Regions from separate parts of the Homo sapiens genome. Here all the other regions are linked to region 1. The links are contacts of gene promoters, found by promoter capture Hi-C in blood cells and fetal thymus (Javierre and others, 2016). All regions are on one chromosome and are shown on one strand. Each heading gives the region's core, a stretch centred on a gene start or on the middle of the fragment in contact. The rest is flanking DNA. Distances are from core to core; before and after follow the strand shown.

Region 1 (2,608 bases), core at 35-2,534:
TCATGGTCACTATAATAACACGAGGCTCTATTGTGGGGTTATGCATAAACTCACACTACCTTATGTGATCTTATGTTAATGCTTTCCTTTTAGTATCTTCTTGTAGCTTGGTAATATTTAAAATTTGTTGATACTCTCTTTGGTTGTGTTCATTATCTTCATTTAGGGAGATGTTGGGGAAGATTTTGTTACTAAAAGCTGTTACATATTAAGGTTTTGTTTTAAAAGGACTTTGAAAAAAAAACTCTTAAGGTTTTCCTTGCTACTATTTAATGAAATTTCACTGCATTGTGTCTTTTGATAGCCATTTTTAAGAGAGCATTTAATTTACTAGATAAGGATTCAGTTTGACCTAATTTGATAGAATATTGCTGTGTTTTTTGTAAAGGGCTACAGATTTTTTTTTAAGTTTAATTTCTTAAGGAATCCTTTAAACACATCTTCTTCTTATTTGCCTTTTCCCTCTGATGTCTATTACCCAGAATTACTCCAAGCTACATATTTAGCTGCATAAAGCAGTGACAGCTTGTCTTCTAAACAATGACAAATTTTAAAATCAGATATTAAGAAACCTTTTCATAGTTTCAAGGGCAGTGAGCTGTATGAACTTGCTTATCAGGTATTAGTGCCTCCAGGGCTATAAAAAGGTAACACATTTAAATGACTATCATACACAAGATATTGACATACCTTCCTTGGTCAGGCCATTTATGTGAAGAGGATTATGCCCACTGAAAATACTTTTGGCACGCCATCACTTCAGCAAAAAAGATGCTATCGAACATGCGCACATCCCCCAACAGTCTGCCTCCTGCGATTGCTTTTCACAGTATCCAAAGTGTCCATCTGTCTGCTTGTCTTCGAGTTACCCTCCTTGTTCATATGGGTCCTAGTCTTCTGAAATTTTCCCTTTCTTTCATTTTCTCTCTTTCGTTAAACAAAAGAGCTGTAGTTGCCCGTTCTGCTTGTAGCACTGTTGACTCTTCCCGACAGTTGATGCATTGAAGCTTTTTACATCTGCTATTTTCCTGGCTGGACAATGCAGTGCTGTGTTCTCGTCTCAGTATCCATATTTCTACTAATAACACTGAGCTGCAATGTAAAGCAGCCAGAGCTAAAATGTAGTGCTTCAGTTGTATTGGAAAAGAATAGGATTTACCTCTCTTCTTTCGTTGTTGCCTGGCAGCTGCAGGAAGGATTTTGAGCAGTTTTAATGGGGTTTTAGTCTATAATATGAAATCCACGGTTCCTCAGCTGCTGCACAGGCAGGCAGCAGTTTAAATGTGGGCTTGACAGATGCTCTCTCTGACAGAGCAGAATTTAACGTCACTGCTTGGCTGAATCCCACGTGATTGTTTGCATTCATTTTGACTAAAAACCTAAGGTAGGGAGAAGCTTAGAGATTTTGCTTTTATGTGATAAATTATATATGTTGAATGCAAGTGTAGTGATGAGTGAATAATTTGAAAATGTGATGATTATGAAATGGTTATGATTTTATTTTTTCCAGCTTACTTCCTTTTTTAACTTTATTCTTAAGTACAGGCTTTCTAAGTGTTTTCTGTGTTAGATGTTGGTTTTCATGTTTCTTACATGCTTTTGTAGGGTGTAAGCAGTATAAGCTTTTGTGTGTAAGTTGGTGTAATTTAACCCCTTCAGTGCATTCTCTTCTTGAAGTTTTTTTTCTCTGCTTTCAAATTGCTCTTGATTTTTTACTAATATGTAGTTAAGACCTATGGTTTCTATTGAAACCATGTATCTTTGTAATTTAGATCCCCCCCCCCGTTTTCTGGGGTTTGTATAAATAAGCTGTCTTGGATTACTTTACTAATGCATGATGTGATACAGCCCACTTCTTTTTTGCTCTTATGTGGTTTTTGGTGTTCTTGATGGCAGAAAACTTTATTTTAAATCACTTTTTAATGTTGTCATTTATTTTTTATTTATTTTTCCTTCCCTTTAAAATTACATGTATCGTAGAATTCAGTAAAATGATGTAATAGATATAGCACACTTGTACAGGATCTGGGGGTAATGAGATTTTACTAATTATGTTTACTTATTCTAATGTTTCAGAAAGATTTAATAACTTGCCATGAGGCAGATTTTATTAACACTACACACTCACTGAGATTTTTCTAATATGGTTAGTTTCTGGGGCTGGCACCTTCTTTTCTTACTGCAGAGCAGTAGGGAAGGTTTTTTTAAATTTTTTGTTGTAGTAAAAAGCCTTTATTATCAGTTTTTCCTCTGTGACTCTAGGGACAGTAATTCAGTCCTAGAAAGTTATAGTTTTGGAGCTTAAGCTAAAGGTTAACAGTTATATACATATTCTTCATCTCACTGCCTCCACCATTAATATATGCTATTTCAAATGAATATGAATTTGTTTTCTCTGATATTAAAAAAAATTTTGTCCACATATTTTTGAGCTTTGCTGATGAAATGTGCTTTGTAGTTTTAAGAACCCCACTGTATTAGAAATGTTAGAAGGATCGTTAAAGAAAAAAAAGAATTTTATAAATAGGAAACCTAAAGCCTAGACTGAGCTTTGACTTTTCCTAGTTAAGTTTGAAGGAGAGGACTAAAACCCAACTTCCTTGTAGTC
Region 2 (2,608 bases), core at 59-2,558, 980 kb after region 1:
AAGTGTTTTCCTGGTGATAGTAATACTGCTGGCCAGAGGACAGCACTTTTATTTTTTCATTTTTTTCTTATTTTTTATTTTTATAGATACAGGAGATACATGTGCAGGTTTGTTATACGGATATATTGCCTAGTGGCGGGGTTTGGGTTTCTAGTGTATCTATCACTCAAATAGAAAATATTCTACCCAATAGGTAATTTTTTTAACCCTGACCCTCCTACCACCTTCCCCCCTTTTGGCAGCCCCAGTGTCTATTATTTCCTTCTGTATGTCCATATATACTCATTGTTTAGCTTTCACTTATAAGTGAGAACATTAAGTTTTTTATTTTCTGTTTCTGAGTTATTTCACTTAGGATAATAACCTGCAACTCCACCAATTTTGCTGCAAAAGACATTATTTTTATATAACTGTGTAGTATTCCAGGGTGTATATATACCACATTTTTAATCTAATCATTCACTTCTAGACACATAGGTTGACTTTACTGCTGTGAATCGTGCTGCAACAAATATGCAAGTGCAGATGTCTTTTTGGTATAACAATTTCTTTTCCTTTGAGTAGACGCCCAGAAGTGGGATTCCTGGGTCAAATAATAGTTCTATTTCTAGTTCTTTGTGAAATCTCCATACTGTTTTCCATAGATGTTGTACTAATTTATGATCTCAAAAAGAGTATATGAACATTACCTTTTCTTCACATCTGTTGTTTTTGACTTTTTAATAATAGCCATTCTGACTAGAGTGAGATTGTATCTCACTGTGTTTTTAATTTGCATTGCATTTCTCTGGTAATTAGTAGTGTTGATTTTTTTCATATGTTCGTGGGCCACTTGCATGTCTTTTTTAGAGAACTGTCTGTTCATGTTCTTTGCCCAGTTTTGAATGTAGTAATTTTCTTGTGTGTGTGTTGTTGTTGTTAAGTTCCTGTAGATTCTGATATTGGTCCTTTGTCATATGCATAGTTTGCAAATATCTTCTCCCATTCTGTAGGTTGTCGTTTACTCTGTTGGTTATTTCTTTTGCTGTGCAGAAGTTTTTAGTTAAAGTAAGTCTCATTTGTTTATTTTTTTTGTTTCAGTTGCATTTGCTTTTGAAGCCTTAGTCACAAGTTACTTGCCTAGGCCAATGTCCGGAAGAGTTTGTACTAGGTTCTCTTCTAGAATGTTTATAGTTTTGGGGCTTACATTTAAGTCTTTAATCAATTTTGAGTTAATTTTTGTATATGCTGATTTATAGGGATCCAGTTTCTTTCTTCGACATATCATTAGCCAGTTTGTCCAGCACCATTTATTGAAGGGGGAGTCCTTTTCCCATTGTGCATTTTTGTCAACTTTATCAAAGATCTGTTGGTTGTAGGCATGTGGCTTCATTTCTGATCAGTGCATCTATTTTTGTACAAGTCCCATGTTATTTTGATTACCATAGCCTTGTGGTATAATTTGAAGTTAGGTAATATGAGACCTCTAGCTTTGCTCTCTCTTTGCTTAGGTTTGCTTTGTCTATTCCGGCTCATTTTTGGTTCCATATTAATTTTAGAATTATTTTTCTAATTCTGTGGAAAACGACATTGGTAATTTGATAGGAGTTGCATTGGATCTCTGCATATTGCTTTTGGCAGTGTGGTCACTTTAATGATGTTTATACTTCCAATCCATTAACATGGGATGTTTTTCTGTTTTCTTTCCTTTCCTTTTCTTTTCTTTCTTTCTTTTTTTTTTTTTTTTAACAAGGTCATACACTGTTGCCCAGGCTGGAGTGCAGTGGCATGATCATGTCTCACTGCAGCCTCAACCTCTCAGGCTCAAATGCTCCAATCACCTCAGCATCCTGAGTAGCTAGAATCACAGGTATGTATCACCACACCTGGATAATTTTTAAAATTTTTAATAGAGATATCTCACTATGTAGAGGATGTCAGTACGTTGCTCAGGCTTGTCTCAGACTCTTGGGATCAAGCGATCCTCCTGCCTCAACCTTCCAACGTGTTGGGATTGCAGGCGTGAGCCTCATGCCTGGCATTTTTCCATTTGTTTGTGTCATCTATGATTTATTGTAGTGATTTGTAGTTCTTGTCCTAGGGATCTTTTGCCTCCTTGGTTAACTGTTTTCCTGGGTATTTTATTTTCGTGTGTGTCTATTGTAAATGTGATTATTGATTTAGTTTTCAGTCTGAACTTTATTGGCATATAGTAATGCTACTGTTATTTTGTTGTGTCTATTGTAAATGTGATTGGGTTATTGATTTAGTTTTCAGCTTGAACATTATTGGTATATAGAAATGCTACTGATTTTTGTACATTGTTTTCGTATCCTGAAACTTTACTGAAGTCATTTATAAAGTCTAAGAGTCTTTTGGAGAAGTCTTTGGGGTTTTCTAGATATAAGATTATGTCATCAGGGAAGAAAGATAATTTGACTTTCTCTTTCATAATGTGGTAGCTTTTATTTATTTGTCTTCCTTTATTCCTCTGGCTAGGCCTAAGGACTGCATTTTTAGGACCACTAGTCAAAATTATTCTCTTCAAATTTACAGGAGAGCAAAAAACACACAGAATTTGTTTAATATGCTAATCCCATAGCTTTTCCCCTGTACAGTCTCTTTTATT
Region 3 (2,608 bases), core at 39-2,538, 960 kb after region 1:
GAAACTGTATACTCATATGACATGCAATCTAAATTAGTACCTCAATTAATCACTGGGGTAATGCAGAACTATTACCTTTTTTTCACACAAGGATGCATCATTAAAAACAGCCTCAATTTTCTTTTTTGATGTCTCACATGATTAATTGCAGTCTTGTGACTTGAAAAGGCAAATTATTTGCTGTTATGGAAATTGACATTTCTGGAGTTTTAAGGCTGTGCTCTTGCCCTTCATCTGGAAATTCTTCAGTTCAATAACATAAACTAAGAGTAGCTTTCAAAGAGGCCTTTCCTCCCTACTAAACATGTTTTACATCCAAACAGCGCTTGTTTCTGAAAGTAATATTTTCATTATGTGAGATTTCAAGTTATAAATGTATTTTTATCTTATCATGTACCAGAATGGAGTTAAAGTAAAGCTAATATTAAATGAAGAGAGTCTTCATGTTCAAAATGAATAATACTACCTCCTCAATTTAACAACACTTTGAAATTATCAAATACTATTCTAACTTATTGAATGGTAAGATATTTTGTTCCAGGCCTATGAAATAAGTTTAACTTTGGGGGAAATAAATAAAATACATTTTCTTAAATTTTAAATATCTGCTATTCAATTTAAACCAGTAAATTATAACAGGCTTGAAACACAATTATGATTCCTTTGGTTACTTCTATTTTCAGTATGCATTGCTTGAATTTGACAGCTGATGCTATTTTACCATTTAAAGAAAGGTTATGTATAAAGTCCTTCTGCTGTTTATAAACCATTTGTTTTTATTACTCAATGGCAAATAATTACTTATTATGCCAAAATCAGTGCCGATGTTTTATATTAGTTTTGTCTGAGTTAGCTACAAATCATGAGTAAATATATGGAAACATCATTCAAGAAAATTGATCAGAATGAAAGTATCATTCTGCTTACCATATTTAGACGTATGTGACCAACACATAAATAAAGATATCAGCTGCAGGAACCCACAAGAAAAATATTTTTAATTCTGACTTCAGCAAACAGAGGGGCACCTGAAAGTGTTAGACCAGAAGATACCACTGAGGAAGGAATGTTTAAAGTGGAATGATACATTTCCAACAGAACATAAACAACAAAATACTTAATATGCAGTCCAGACTGAAATGTGTAATGAAAATAGTTGGATATTAAAGAATTCAAGAGTGAGAGGCATCAGCAAGGAGGACCTCCTCCTTATTATTGAGGTAAGATAAATTTGTTTTTTATCAAAATAAATTATCACTAAGCAAAGCAGAGAAAACAATCTGTGATCCACTGCAGCCAGCAAAAGGCTTCCACAATTAGAAAAATATGAAAATGATGCATGCAAGTTAGATGGGTTCACTAAATGACAAAACATATCTCAGGGGAGAAAAATAAAGATGAGGAAATATTCATTTTTACACAGGGACGTTATCAATTTTTGATAAAGAGGCCACACTTGGAGACAATATGTAACAATTTTGGTTGCAGGTGGAGACTGGCATTCACCTGCCAACATCCAAATCCATGCTTATCCACTTACAGTCCTGAGATTTTTTTCTAGTAAGTCCAGTGTATATATAAGACACTTTTTCTTTGTAAAATAGGGTCACATATGTCTAAGTTATGTGTGTACCATGAATCTGAGAGGATATATACCTAGCCCATATTATATACCCAGATTCTGACATATGTTAGGCATTCAATGAATATTTGTTCAGTGAAAAATAAATGGGTTATATTTGTAAGTTTTCAGTAAATAATTTTATATTTATACCTATGAATTTTAGTTGTTCTACGTATTTGTCCTTTTGTTCCCAAATTCACTTAAGTAATCTATTAATCTATCATACCATTCCAGTCTTAGCTCCCATTTTGTATATATATAGAATGTCTACTCATAATTCCTTGAATATACTTTACACTGTTAGTTTTTGCTTTAGCTCAACAAAAATGTCCTCCTTTCTTCTCATTCTGCCTAAAAATTTCTATTTATCTTTCAAATAAAATCTCACATACTTTTCCAACTGTCACTGAACACTTACTTTTCAATAATGATAATCATAATACTAAGATTGGATATGAAAGCATTTTAACATACAGTACATTCCTCTTAGTTCACATTACTTCTAATCATCATCTTCTTTAAGAAAAATCAGTAATGTGAAGTATGTGCTGAAAACAGAATTTCCTGTTTGTTTGTATTTGTTCTTGGTATTTTCTTCCATAGCATTTACTGCCATATGATATTAGATACATATTTTTTTCTAGTATTTATTTTTGCCTCCCACCCTGTCCTGTAAGTTCCAACAGGATAGAAATCTTGTATTGTTTACTCCAAATGCTTAGAAAAAGTGCCTGACACATTCCCAACATACAGCAAATACTTAATAAAAAATGGTCTGAACATTCCTGCCTGAAGAGCCTGTGTTTCATGAATGAGATCCTTAAATGCAATTAGATGCTTAAATATTGCCACACTGTGTTTGCAATGGGGACCTAACTGTTATCATATCCACTGTTACTGCTGATGTAGGACATAATTCATTCTTTCAGTAACCACCCTTTTTAAAAAAAGAAAGTCTAGAGTGAAATATTATTACATTATAAA
Region 4 (2,608 bases), core at 58-2,557, 930 kb after region 1:
GGCTGCCCCGCGGCTAGGTTCTCCTCCGTCCGACCGGCCCCAGCTAAACTCCGCATCATTCAGCTGGTGGATGGCCTGCTGGCGTCTGCCGGTGCCGGTCGGTGTGCCCTTCCACCGGTATGTTCCTCTCGACGTCCAGCCGCTTGTGTGTTCCTCTGGTGTGTTTCACTCAATGTCCACCCACTCGTGTTTCTACCCACTAGGGCACCGGGGATTTATAGGCACAGGATGGGGGCGTGGAGGGCCAGAGTCGTCTTGGAAAATGGAAGATTTGGGCACGAGAACAGAAATGCCCGTCCTCACCTAGGTCCGAGGGCACAGGCCAAGGGGTGGACCCCTAACCAGGGACCCACTCTTCTCTACCCAGCACTTACCTGGCCCCCTCCCATGTGGCAAAGCTAAGAGAAAAGAAGAAACAAAAATAAAAACAGAAAATGCCCCTGTGACTGGATTGCTTCTCCAGGTTGTGAAGATGGCTATCTCCATGACCCATGAGCCTTTGTTTACTTTTCAGGGTTCTCAGGTGGTTTTTTGTTTTTTTTTTTTGTTTTCTTTGTAATTTATCCAAATTTTAGAATTATAATCAGTAAGTGGGGTGGATCTTAGAAGCTCACATCATCATAGGCAGAATCGGTATTCCCATATGGCATACATTTTTGAAAAGTACATATTTCCTTTCTATAGTGAGATATTGAAGCTATTATCACCTACATTTTGAAAGATAATATGTTTGTAGCAATCTTTAAGTTGCATGTGATCAGTCAGTGGATGGTATAAGCTTCTGAACCTGTACTGGGTTCAGTACTAACTTGAATACACATGGCTATTAATTGCCACCAGTTAGGCTGGTATGCCTTATGGCTGCCCAGCTGTTTGGCAGAAAGTAAGGTTGGGAAATCAACTTTCATGTTTGCTATTTAAAACTACCCATGTCTATTATTTTTGATTTTGAGCAGCTGCTATCCTCAAAATTGAAGAAACACATCTGTCTAAGTAAGCTGCTAGATTTAAACAATAAAAAAGGTTTCTGTTAAACATTTAAAAGATTAAATCTTGTTGCTACAGCTCTATCAGGCACTCTCATCCAACTTTCTTCTTTAACTAGAAAATAATTTTACCCAAATTACATGCACTCTTATGCTTAGTAATTTTTTACTAAGAGAATGCAAAGAACATACAATTATCTATTAATTTGCTAATTTTTAGGTGGTAACTGCCATAGCCACATACATATTAATGTTTAGATTTCATTAAAAAAATGGTTTTATCTTCTTGCTGATGGCAGTAGGTCTGGCATCCTGAACATGGAAGCTGTTGTTAAAACATTTTGAACCAGCAAAATATTTTAAAACACACAGCAGTGATACTTAGTGAATTATTCATGTTCATTCCCAGGATGAAGATGGGGAGAGAATCATGGCATCAATAAATACAGGATATGATTCTATTTTAGTAATCCTCTGAAGATCATCCTGTAAGTTTGCAGCAATTTTCTGATAAATCCTGCCTTTATTTATCTGTTATATCCCTTGTGTTAGGTAAATTGACAAGTAATTGACTTTAGTTTAATGCTATAACACCACACATTGACTTATCTTCTTTCCTTTTTCAGATAAATTCTATCTTCATTTATTTTATAGTTTATTGATGCTCATGCTCTTAAATTTAATATATTATGTATAAACATTTTATAATTTTTGGAATGAAAATGGCACTTGCCATTTTTGTTTCCCAGGATGAGATGATGAAATGGAGGAATTATCTTTTTTTTCTATGAAAGCAACACCATTTTCATTAAAAGAAACTTCTAAAATACAAATGGTTTAAACCTACAAATAAGCTTTAGAGTAAACTGCAAAAAGAGAGAAATGAAATGAAGATGGAATATATAACTAAAAAGGAAGCACAACTTAAAGAATTGGAAAATTCTCAGCTTAGTCATGTAAAGAATTAAGTCATATTTGGAAGAGAATACAAAAGGTGTGGACAAATAAAGTGTAATAAGGAGATTAGTATGGACAGAAGGAAGCCAGATGCTATCCATCAAGACAATGAAAGAATAACCTCAAGGACATTTTTTAAATCATTGAGGCTGCCACTTCCATCGGCTCAGAATGCCAAGGCTTTGAGGGCAAAACAGTTTCAAGGAAGGGGAATAAGGCACACCTGGAACTGCAGGGCTGATTTCTCAGGGCCACCTCAAGTCTCTGTTCCCTAAATTGTGTTGCAGCACTTGCCACCCCAGCTGTGGCTCAAGTTAGCCCAGGCATGGCTTAGGCTGCCCTTCTCAAAGGCAGTACAAGTAGTAAACCTTGGCAGTGTCCATGTGGTGATAACCTTGCATATTAGCAGAGTGCGAGAGCTGTGGAGGCACGACTACCTCCATTTAGATTTCAGATGATGTCTCAGAGAGTCTTGGGACCCAGGCACAGAACTGCCACAGGAACATGGCTGGTGCAGAGTCCCCACTAGGGCAATGCCTAGTGAAGCCATGAGGACAGCTTCACCACTAAGACCTCAGAACTGTACAACCACCAAAATGGAACTCCAGCCTGGGAGAGTGACAGACACTAGACTTCAACCCTGGAGAGCTCTGGTGTGGGCTTTG
Region 5 (2,608 bases), core at 46-2,545, 900 kb after region 1:
TGTTTCAGAAAATTAGTTTTGATATTACTGTTTTAGTTATAACTATAGGTTAATATTGCTTAGAAAGTGTAATTATATGAGAACTTAGAGGTAGCTATCAGTTACCTCTTATAGAAGAGACAGTAAAAAAAAATGCTCAAATTTGAAGTTTGTTTGTTACCACTAGTCAGGTTGTTCAAAGAAAAAACAGATGCCAAAGGGAACTGAATTCAAATGTTCAGTATTCTGGTAAATCAACTCTGAAGACCTACAGCTTTCTTATGGTTCCATCTTTGTGTTGATAACACTACTTGATAGGTGATACTTGTGTGTTGTTGACAGTATGTCAATATTATATTAATTCCCTGAAAAACAAGTTTCATTGAGTAATCGAGGGAAAGGTATACCCATATTTATGCCATAGGGCTATTGTTAGAATTAAATTAGATACAATACAGAAAACATCTAACACTATTCCTGCCTCATACAATGAGTATCCTCAGTGGAAGTCTATTCTCTAGTAAGAAAGTGCCCTTATCCAGAAATCTTTCTCTTTCATTTTCATTATGAGAGAAACTATATTTCTGGACCCAAATCACAATTTTCTTATTACCTATGTTATCTCTGGTAAATAATAACCTACAGAAAAAGTTGTTTTGAGAAGTTGAGAAGTTGCTTGGTAGTCAGAAGATTAAGTGATTCACACATTGTTCTGCCCAGGAAATGATGCATAACATTTATATTAATAATTTTGATGACTATTTATCTGTGTATTTAAATTTATTTCACCTAGCCAGCAGACTTATGAAAAAGTTGAAAATGCAATTGAAAATGCTCTAGTTCATCATTGATAATTGAGCATTGAATCGCACACCTTCTTTTTACCTCTGCCAAGTTCAAAGAGATTGTCCCCACCTTGTACCCTATTTCTGGTACTGTTTACTTGCTCTACATTCCTGTGTCTTTTTCTTGTCTTTGCAGTTTTCTTTCCTGGTTCCTTAGCAACAGCCATCTTGTGCTGAGTCCTGAATCCCATTTCAAGGGTCCTGTTTCTTGCCCAGCACCTTGAATCACTGCATAATTCTGGCTGTCAGATTCTCAGTTGCCTAGTTCAGACTGTTTGAACAAGCCTATTATTGTGAATTGATCTTTTTGATTGTGACTACTCTCTGCATCATTTTTACCTGACTGAGGTGACTTTTGCTTTTCATTTTCAGGGGCAAGCTTAATTCCACTCAGTCTATTATTGTGCACTGGCACATGGATGGATGTGTGTGGACACACACACACGAGTACGCAAATCTGCCTGCATTCCCACCAAGTCTGACCACACAAACTTGTCTTACTTTTTGCACAGTAGCAGATGTCAGTACTTAATATTACTAAATCTAGATCCTTGCAGTGCAATACAAGCTTTTAAAATGCAAGTATGTTTTTTACATAAAGACTCTTTTATATTTACTTATGGAAACTCTTAATTAGAGATAAATGTACATGGTACCTCAGAATCTGGATTCTGGGACAAGGCTTTTCACATTCACATCCCAGCTCTATTACTTACAAGTTGTGATCGCTTAGCTAAATTATATAATTTTTCTGCACCTTAGCTTCATCATCTCTAAAACGAGGATGCTATATCTCTGTCATCATTAAACGAGTTAATGAATGCAAAGTTTAGAATGCTGTCTGGTGCACAATACATTCAATAAGTATAGGGTATTTTATTATTATATATTTATGCAAATGATCTTGCTTAAAACAAATTTTAACCTTGAAAAGATAATTCAGATTGTTATAATTATAGCAATATTTAATCTTTAGTTTTGACATGATCAAACAGCAATAGAGACTTGGAAGTATTACCGCATGGTTCTTGGAATCCAATGGAATTAATAAATTGGCTTCAGGGAGTTTATAAACCAAATTGAGAAAAACAAAGATTATTACATTTATTTCTGCTACTTAGAAACCATCTTTAAAAAATATTTGCAAATATGTTATGAAGTCATTATTTCTTCATGGTGGTACAATATACTATATTAAATGGTTATATAAGTATCATTATAATACCTCTAGAAAATGTGCATTGATAGTTAAAATATGACTAATTTTTAATTTTTTATATTGCACCAATCCCAGTTTATAAAATGTCTAAGAAAGGAGAGAACAAAAAATTGTCTATATTATTTGATTTAACTTTCACCATAGAAGCCACCATTAATCTTGTACAGAAAGACACTAATGAACTCATACTGCAAAAATAATATAAAATGCTAAAATGGACAAATCAAACAAAACAGAGGTAATCGCATAGCAATTACGTTGTTTGCATTCAAAATCCAACTGGGTGGAAACAGTGACCTTCTAGTTTTTAACAATTAGGTGTATATTGATGATGTCAAAGAATTCGCTTTTTAAAAAAAATCTACTGTTGAAATATTAAAAGGCTGTTGACATTTTCAAAATAGTGTCAAGATTCTTTGCTAATCAAATAACAATGGGAAAAGTCATGTACTTTGTAGTGTGATAGACAATTTTTAGTGTCTGCACACATTGAAATTATCTATCTATCTATCTATCTATCTATCTATCTTTCTATCTATCCATCCATCTATCTATCTCTGTATCT
Region 6 (2,608 bases), core at 64-2,563, 860 kb after region 1:
CAAATAGCAGTGTCATAGCATTCCAGTTAATCCGTGGTGGAAGATGAGTTGGAAAAAGGCTTCTTCCTAGAACCACTGATAATAAAACTCCAATTCTCTCAGCATTTCTCATTTCTCTTTCCTGAATCCTAAAGTACAATAAGTCAACTCAAAAGCAAGAAAGCAAACAAATAGATAATACAGGCACATAGAAAAGAGATCCAAGTAAATAGACTATAGTCAGGTATGAATGGCTATGAGCAGAGAGTTAAATAAAAAACACAAGAACAAAACATTTTATGATGCTCTAATATGTAAAAGGCACAACACTAGCTTTCCGAAGAGAAAAGACTTAAGCAGTAAATGAAAGAAAATCCCATTTTAAAATTCTTGACATGGATTGTCTGTGTTTTGAAGTTGAGGTATAAATTCTAAAGCTGGATTGTCAGGTTACTTGAAGAAGACAAAATAGACAAAAATTGGTTGAAATCCATTTAAGCAATATGAGCAATTGTGTTGGAAGAATACTTCCTATCTTTTGATCAAACAAAAATAGCCTTATTACTCTCAAAATAGTATGCTATGGAGTTCTCCAAGGTTTATTTTTGAAAAAGATTTATAAAGAATGAAAGAAGATAAAACTCCATTATGTCTAAGGTCTTTCAGCTCAAAAAATAAGGTGTCATTTTTTAAACTAATGTAGAAAGGTATTGTTGAAACTGAAGATGAGAGAGGCTAATTCTGTATATGGAAGAGTGTTGAACAACAACCATAACATACAGTCTGTGCATATTTGAATGTTCTGAGAGAATGTACTGTAACCTAAGCTTACTAAACAGATTTAGTAGAGGGCTCAAAATACCTGAGCATACATTTACAATAAGAAAGTCCAACTGTAAAATCTTTTTACTTAGAAAAGTTTTCGACATGAATTGGTTACAGTTTCTCCCTCTTTTTAAAAAAAAATTGTTTAAGAAATCAAGTATTATTCAAAACAAGAAGTCATAAATTTCTTATAATATTTCTTAAAATAATTTATCCATTTTATTCTTTTGCGGCTTATGGATAAACACTATGACCTATTAAATACTCAACTTGAGTGTCTTAGTTCTTTAGGGCTGTTATAACAAATTGCCATAGGCTGGGTGACTTATAAACAATAAAAATTTATTTCTCACAGTTCTGGAGGCTGGAAGTCTGAGATCAGGGTGCAAATACGACTGGGTGTTGTGAGGGCTCTGTTCTGGGTTGCAGACTGATAATTTCTCCCTGTGCCCTTACATAGAAGAAGGGTCAAGAGTTTTTCTGTCATACCTTTTATAAGGAAATTAATCCCATTAGTGAGCCTTCATGACCTAATGATTTCCCAAAGGCTGTATCTCCTAATACCATCACCTTGGAGGTTAAAATTTCAACATAGTATAAGATGACACAAATATTCAGACATAGCAGAGAGTAGATGATGTTATGTTACCCAAACACCAAAGGTTCAGTCTGGGTCCTGCTGCTCACCGCACAGAAAGCCAATGACTGAGATGAGTATTGCCAAGGAATAAGGCTTTAATCAGGTACTGCAGATGAGGAGATGGAAGATCAGTCTCAAATCCATCTCCCTGACCAACAAAGATGAAGGGTTTATATAGCATGGAAGAAATTAACTGTGTGTGGGAAAACAGAAACAGGAGGGGTAAGGAAGCAACCATGATAAATGAGTGGCCTGGCCACATATTGCCAGGATGTAATGATCTAGTGAGTTTTAGTTCTTTGATACTTGATACTCTTTTTGAGAGGCGTGGGAGTCCTTTCTTGAGGAAATAACTCAGGTGAAACAAATATAAACGTCAAGCTTTATGACCAGAAAGGTCAACTTCTATGTTTACAAAAATAAAAAATAAAAACAAAACAAAAACTGTGTGTGGGACTATTGGATCGATTTCAGTTTCACAAACACCAATTCCAACTTTTGAGTAAAAGTAAAAATAAACACATAGAAATTGCAATATCAAGCATTCTGCATTTTTTGTTTGTTTGTTTTTTTAGACAGAGTCTCACTTTGTCACCCAGGCTGGAGTGCAATGGCATGATTTTGACTCACTGCAGCCTCTGTCTCCCGGGTTCAAGCAATTCTCCTGCCTCAGCCTCCCAAGTAGCTGGGATTACAGGCATGCACCACCATGCCTGGCTAATTTTTGTATTTTTAGTAGAGACAGGGTCTCACCATGTTGGCCAGGCTGGTCTTGAACTCCTGATCTCAAATGATCTGCCTGCCTCGGCTTCCCAAATTGCTGGGATTACAGGCGTGAGCCACCGCTCCCGGCCCTGAATTTTCTTATAGGTAAAGTAAGTGCGTGAAATATGTATGTGAGTGTTATGGCTAATGAAGTAAGAAATAATGATGACAAGAGCAGAAAAAGAAATAAAATAGTGATAGAGAAAATCAACAGTTAAAAACAGAAGAAGGAAGAGAGATACTAGGAGACAAGAGGAGAAGGCAGCCTAGGAGAGTGGGGGAGAACCACAATAAGAGGTAGGAGGTAGAGGAGGAGGAGGTGAGAGAGTAAGTAGAGGAATGTGCTTTAGGAGATTATATGTGGGTTGTAGAACAGTCAGCGATGGAATATAAAAGTAT
Region 7 (2,608 bases), core at 73-2,572, 730 kb after region 1:
GAGCACATTACCTGGTGATGCAGGGTAGGTCATTATTAAGTGCCCATGTCTCTCTGAGTAAGACAAAGCGAGCATCCTCCCATTGAAATTTACTCAAGAAGGCAGATGTTACACACGACCACGTCTCTGTGCCTTGAGCGAAATCTCATTCTTAGTTAGGGCATCTTCAAACTATTCTTCCAAAAGGTGTTGGAGAAAGAGTCAGTCACTGGATAAATTGGGGAGTTTCTTTGAAGGAGTCTGCAATTTAAAGTGAGCAGAGTATCAACTTTGAAATTAATAGCTTTGGGCTGAATTTCAGAACTCCGGCTTTATGTCAACTGTGAGGGAACTTGGGAAAGATTAAACACTCTGCTTCATATGTATAAAATTAGAATAGTAATCCTAAAGGAAGTAAGGAATATTAAATGAGAATATGTATGTATATGCATGCGAGATATATATGTGTGTGTGTGTTTGTGTGTGTGTGTATGAAATATATTTCTTGGGGGAAAAAAAGAAAGGATTTCTTCCTCTTTTGATTAAAGGGAGCTAGATGGAGTGATCATAAGCTTTCTTTCAGTATGGAAAGTTTGACCCTACCACCCTTAAGTCTGAACATGACCTAAGAAAAAGGTGGATATGATATGATGGAAATCCTTGCTAGAGAGACACAATATGTTGAGAGCTTTTTTCGTTCCAGCCAGGTGGATTCAGGCAAGGGTAATGTAGCAATGTTGAAGGGAAGCAGGAGCCGATAAAGTGACCCACATGATATATCTTTAAGCCAAACCTCTTTGGATGAGGGATGGAAGGTGAAGATATTACATAGCTTGAGGGAAAATTGGAAAGAAAAGGATGATGACTGTACCCTATATAATACACTAGGACAAGTCCATAAACATGCCCGTTGTCATCTTGAGTTTGGTAATATAGCAGTGGTGTCTAGGTAGATGAAACTGATGAGACTGAGATGGTTTTCCTGTGACCTGCATATGTCAGACAGGAGGGGCAGAATTTCTCCATGCACCAGTGACCAGCTACTGCAGTGCTGGAGTCCGTATGAAGAGGCTGCCTTGCTTGACTTTGTGACTAAAGGCAAATGCCAGCCATTATGGGCTTGACTAGAGTGGTCTTCATTCTAGTGAATGACCTACTGTGTGACCACAGTACATTAACTGTCACCATTTCTGGAACTAGACAAGGGCAACCAATTTAACAACAGCCATTGGGATTCCAGAAGACACACAATAATTCAAAAATTCAAGACTCACTTTTTCCCATTACTCAAGGTCATGTAAGTGACCCTTCTGGCATACATTCAGATGCCATGTCTGAGAAGGTGAGGGAGAAGGAAAGCAAGTTGAAAAAAAAGTTATTTATGAAAAGAAGACTTTAAAAAAACAAGCCACTTAAAATAGCACTGAGAATTCGATGAACTTCGAGTAGACTGACTTAGAACATAGAATTTTTAAATGTGCAGATGCTGAGATACTAGTAATTGGCAAGTTTAAGTTTCTTCTCTTCCAAAGGGAAATAATTATGAGAAAAAGGATGATCAGATTATAACTGATCAGATCAGTTATGGAAAAATATAGCTGCTACATTTTCCTTGCTAATCTGAGTAATAGTTTGATTAAATTCTGTCTATGTCTCACATATATCACAATGCTAGACCTATAACAATAAGATATTAATTATTCTACTCTATACCATGCTAAAGGAATCAAATGAAGATATTCTAATAAGAAGCTAAACTACATCCACAACACAGGTCATAAAGTCATGCCATCTTATATATCTTACTTACAGCATTGGTAAGTGTGTAGGGATAAGATTGTATGAGGTGGAGAATAATAATAACATGGGTCTTAACAGTTTCTCTGTAAATTTCAGAATGCCAATGGACCTTCCATACTGACAAGCAATCCTACCATGTTTCTCTGGTTATTTCTTGGGAAAGACATAACTTCTTGTAGAAATAAAGCTGAAATGATATGAATTCTCTGCAACAATCTCTCACCCATTTGCAGAGAGCAGACCTAAAAATAGGGGTACTAGGAAAAGAATCCAAGAAAAATTGGATGCCCTGATGACAACTGTTGAGCTGCTAATAAAGCTTTGTGTAAAGCTAGCTCTGTAATGGGACTTTTCAATCATGTGAAATACTATATTTCATTTATTGATATGCTGGCTTACGTTAGGTATTCTGTCACTTTTCCTGAAGGACATCTGATAATAAAAAAAAAGATCCATGGCCAGAGCAAAGGGTACACAGTGTTGGTTAAGACACCAAAATTAAGTTTAGGTTAAATAGCATTGTCTAATATTCCCCCAAAGGATCCTATGAGGATGGAATCTTGAAGGTAGGGAAAGGAATCATAGGTGGTCTGGACATTAGTCCTGTCCTTTATCATCTCCTTCAGATTTCTGTAAGTTTTAGAGTATATTGAAATTCATAATTTTAAAAGAATAAATGAATCATATTTGAGGAAATTTATGAAAATTAAGCTGCCTGAGTTTCACTCACCTGTTGTACTTTGCCAAAAACATAAAAAACATAAACATCCCCCATTCACACTTAAATATTAATAATGTTTTAATTTACTGTTTACTTTTTATTAAAGTA

What was found. The method cuts DNA at HindIII sites, captures the fragments that hold promoters and counts their contacts. A CHiCAGO score of 5 or more calls a contact.
Region 2: a contact is called between a fragment that was not itself captured here and the fragment with the promoter of B3GALT2 in region 1, in 2 of 17 cell types (non-activated CD4 T cells and total CD4 T cells). The highest score is 7.3, in non-activated CD4 T cells.
Region 3: a contact is called between a fragment that was not itself captured here and the fragment with the promoter of B3GALT2 in region 1, in 1 of 17 cell types (naive CD4 T cells). The highest score is 5.9, in naive CD4 T cells.
Region 4: a contact is called between a fragment that was not itself captured here and the fragment with the promoter of B3GALT2 in region 1, in 2 of 17 cell types (non-activated CD4 T cells and total CD4 T cells). The highest score is 5.8, in non-activated CD4 T cells.
Region 5: a contact is called between a fragment that was not itself captured here and the fragment with the promoter of B3GALT2 in region 1, in 1 of 17 cell types (non-activated CD4 T cells). The highest score is 5.3, in non-activated CD4 T cells.
Region 6: a fragment that was not itself captured here is called in contact with the fragment with the promoter of B3GALT2 in region 1 in 3 of 17 cell types (naive CD8 T cells, non-activated CD4 T cells and naive CD4 T cells); the score reaches 6.9 in naive CD8 T cells.
Region 7: a fragment that was not itself captured here is called in contact with the fragment with the promoter of B3GALT2 in region 1 in 1 of 17 cell types (naive CD4 T cells); the score reaches 5.2 in naive CD4 T cells.

What each region holds. Positions count from the first base shown.
Region 1 is chr1:193,185,329-193,187,936 of GRCh38, forward strand. It overlaps B3GALT2 (beta-1,3-galactosyltransferase 2), which reads right to left and starts at 1,285. Exons shown (of 2, transcript NM_003783.3): 1 at 691-1,285. The region is part of intron 10 of CDC73 (cell division cycle 73); the gene reads left to right. The HindIII fragment of the contact is 388 bases long and covers 1,006-1,393 here.
Region 2 is chr1:194,169,865-194,172,472 of GRCh38, forward strand. The region is part of intron 7 of LOC124904475 (a long non-coding RNA gene); the gene reads left to right. The region is part of intron 2 of LOC107985242 (a long non-coding RNA gene); the gene reads right to left. Among named protein-coding and RNA genes, the nearest start is that of LINC01031, 870 kb to the left of the region's middle. The HindIII fragment of the contact is 4,453 bases long and covers 1-2,608 here.
Region 3 is chr1:194,145,504-194,148,111 of GRCh38, forward strand. All of the region lies in intron 6 of LOC124904475 (a long non-coding RNA gene), which reads left to right. Among named protein-coding and RNA genes, the nearest start is that of LINC01031, 840 kb to the left of the region's middle. The HindIII fragment of the contact is 7,383 bases long and covers 1-2,608 here.
Region 4 is chr1:194,118,149-194,120,756 of GRCh38, forward strand. All of the region lies in intron 5 of LOC124904475 (a long non-coding RNA gene), which reads left to right. Among named protein-coding and RNA genes, the nearest start is that of LINC01031, 810 kb to the left of the region's middle. The HindIII fragment of the contact is 1,062 bases long and covers 777-1,838 here.
Region 5 is chr1:194,086,343-194,088,950 of GRCh38, forward strand. The region is part of intron 5 of LOC124904475 (a long non-coding RNA gene); the gene reads left to right. Among named protein-coding and RNA genes, the nearest start is that of LINC01031, 780 kb to the left of the region's middle. The HindIII fragment of the contact is 189 bases long and covers 1,202-1,390 here.
Region 6 is chr1:194,045,629-194,048,236 of GRCh38, forward strand. All of the region lies in intron 5 of LOC124904475 (a long non-coding RNA gene), which reads left to right. Among named protein-coding and RNA genes, the nearest start is that of LINC01031, 740 kb to the left of the region's middle. The HindIII fragment of the contact is 1,019 bases long and covers 805-1,823 here.
Region 7 is chr1:193,911,636-193,914,243 of GRCh38, forward strand. All of the region lies in intron 5 of LOC124904475 (a long non-coding RNA gene), which reads left to right. Among named protein-coding and RNA genes, the nearest start is that of LINC01031, 610 kb to the left of the region's middle. The HindIII fragment of the contact is 1,547 bases long and covers 550-2,096 here.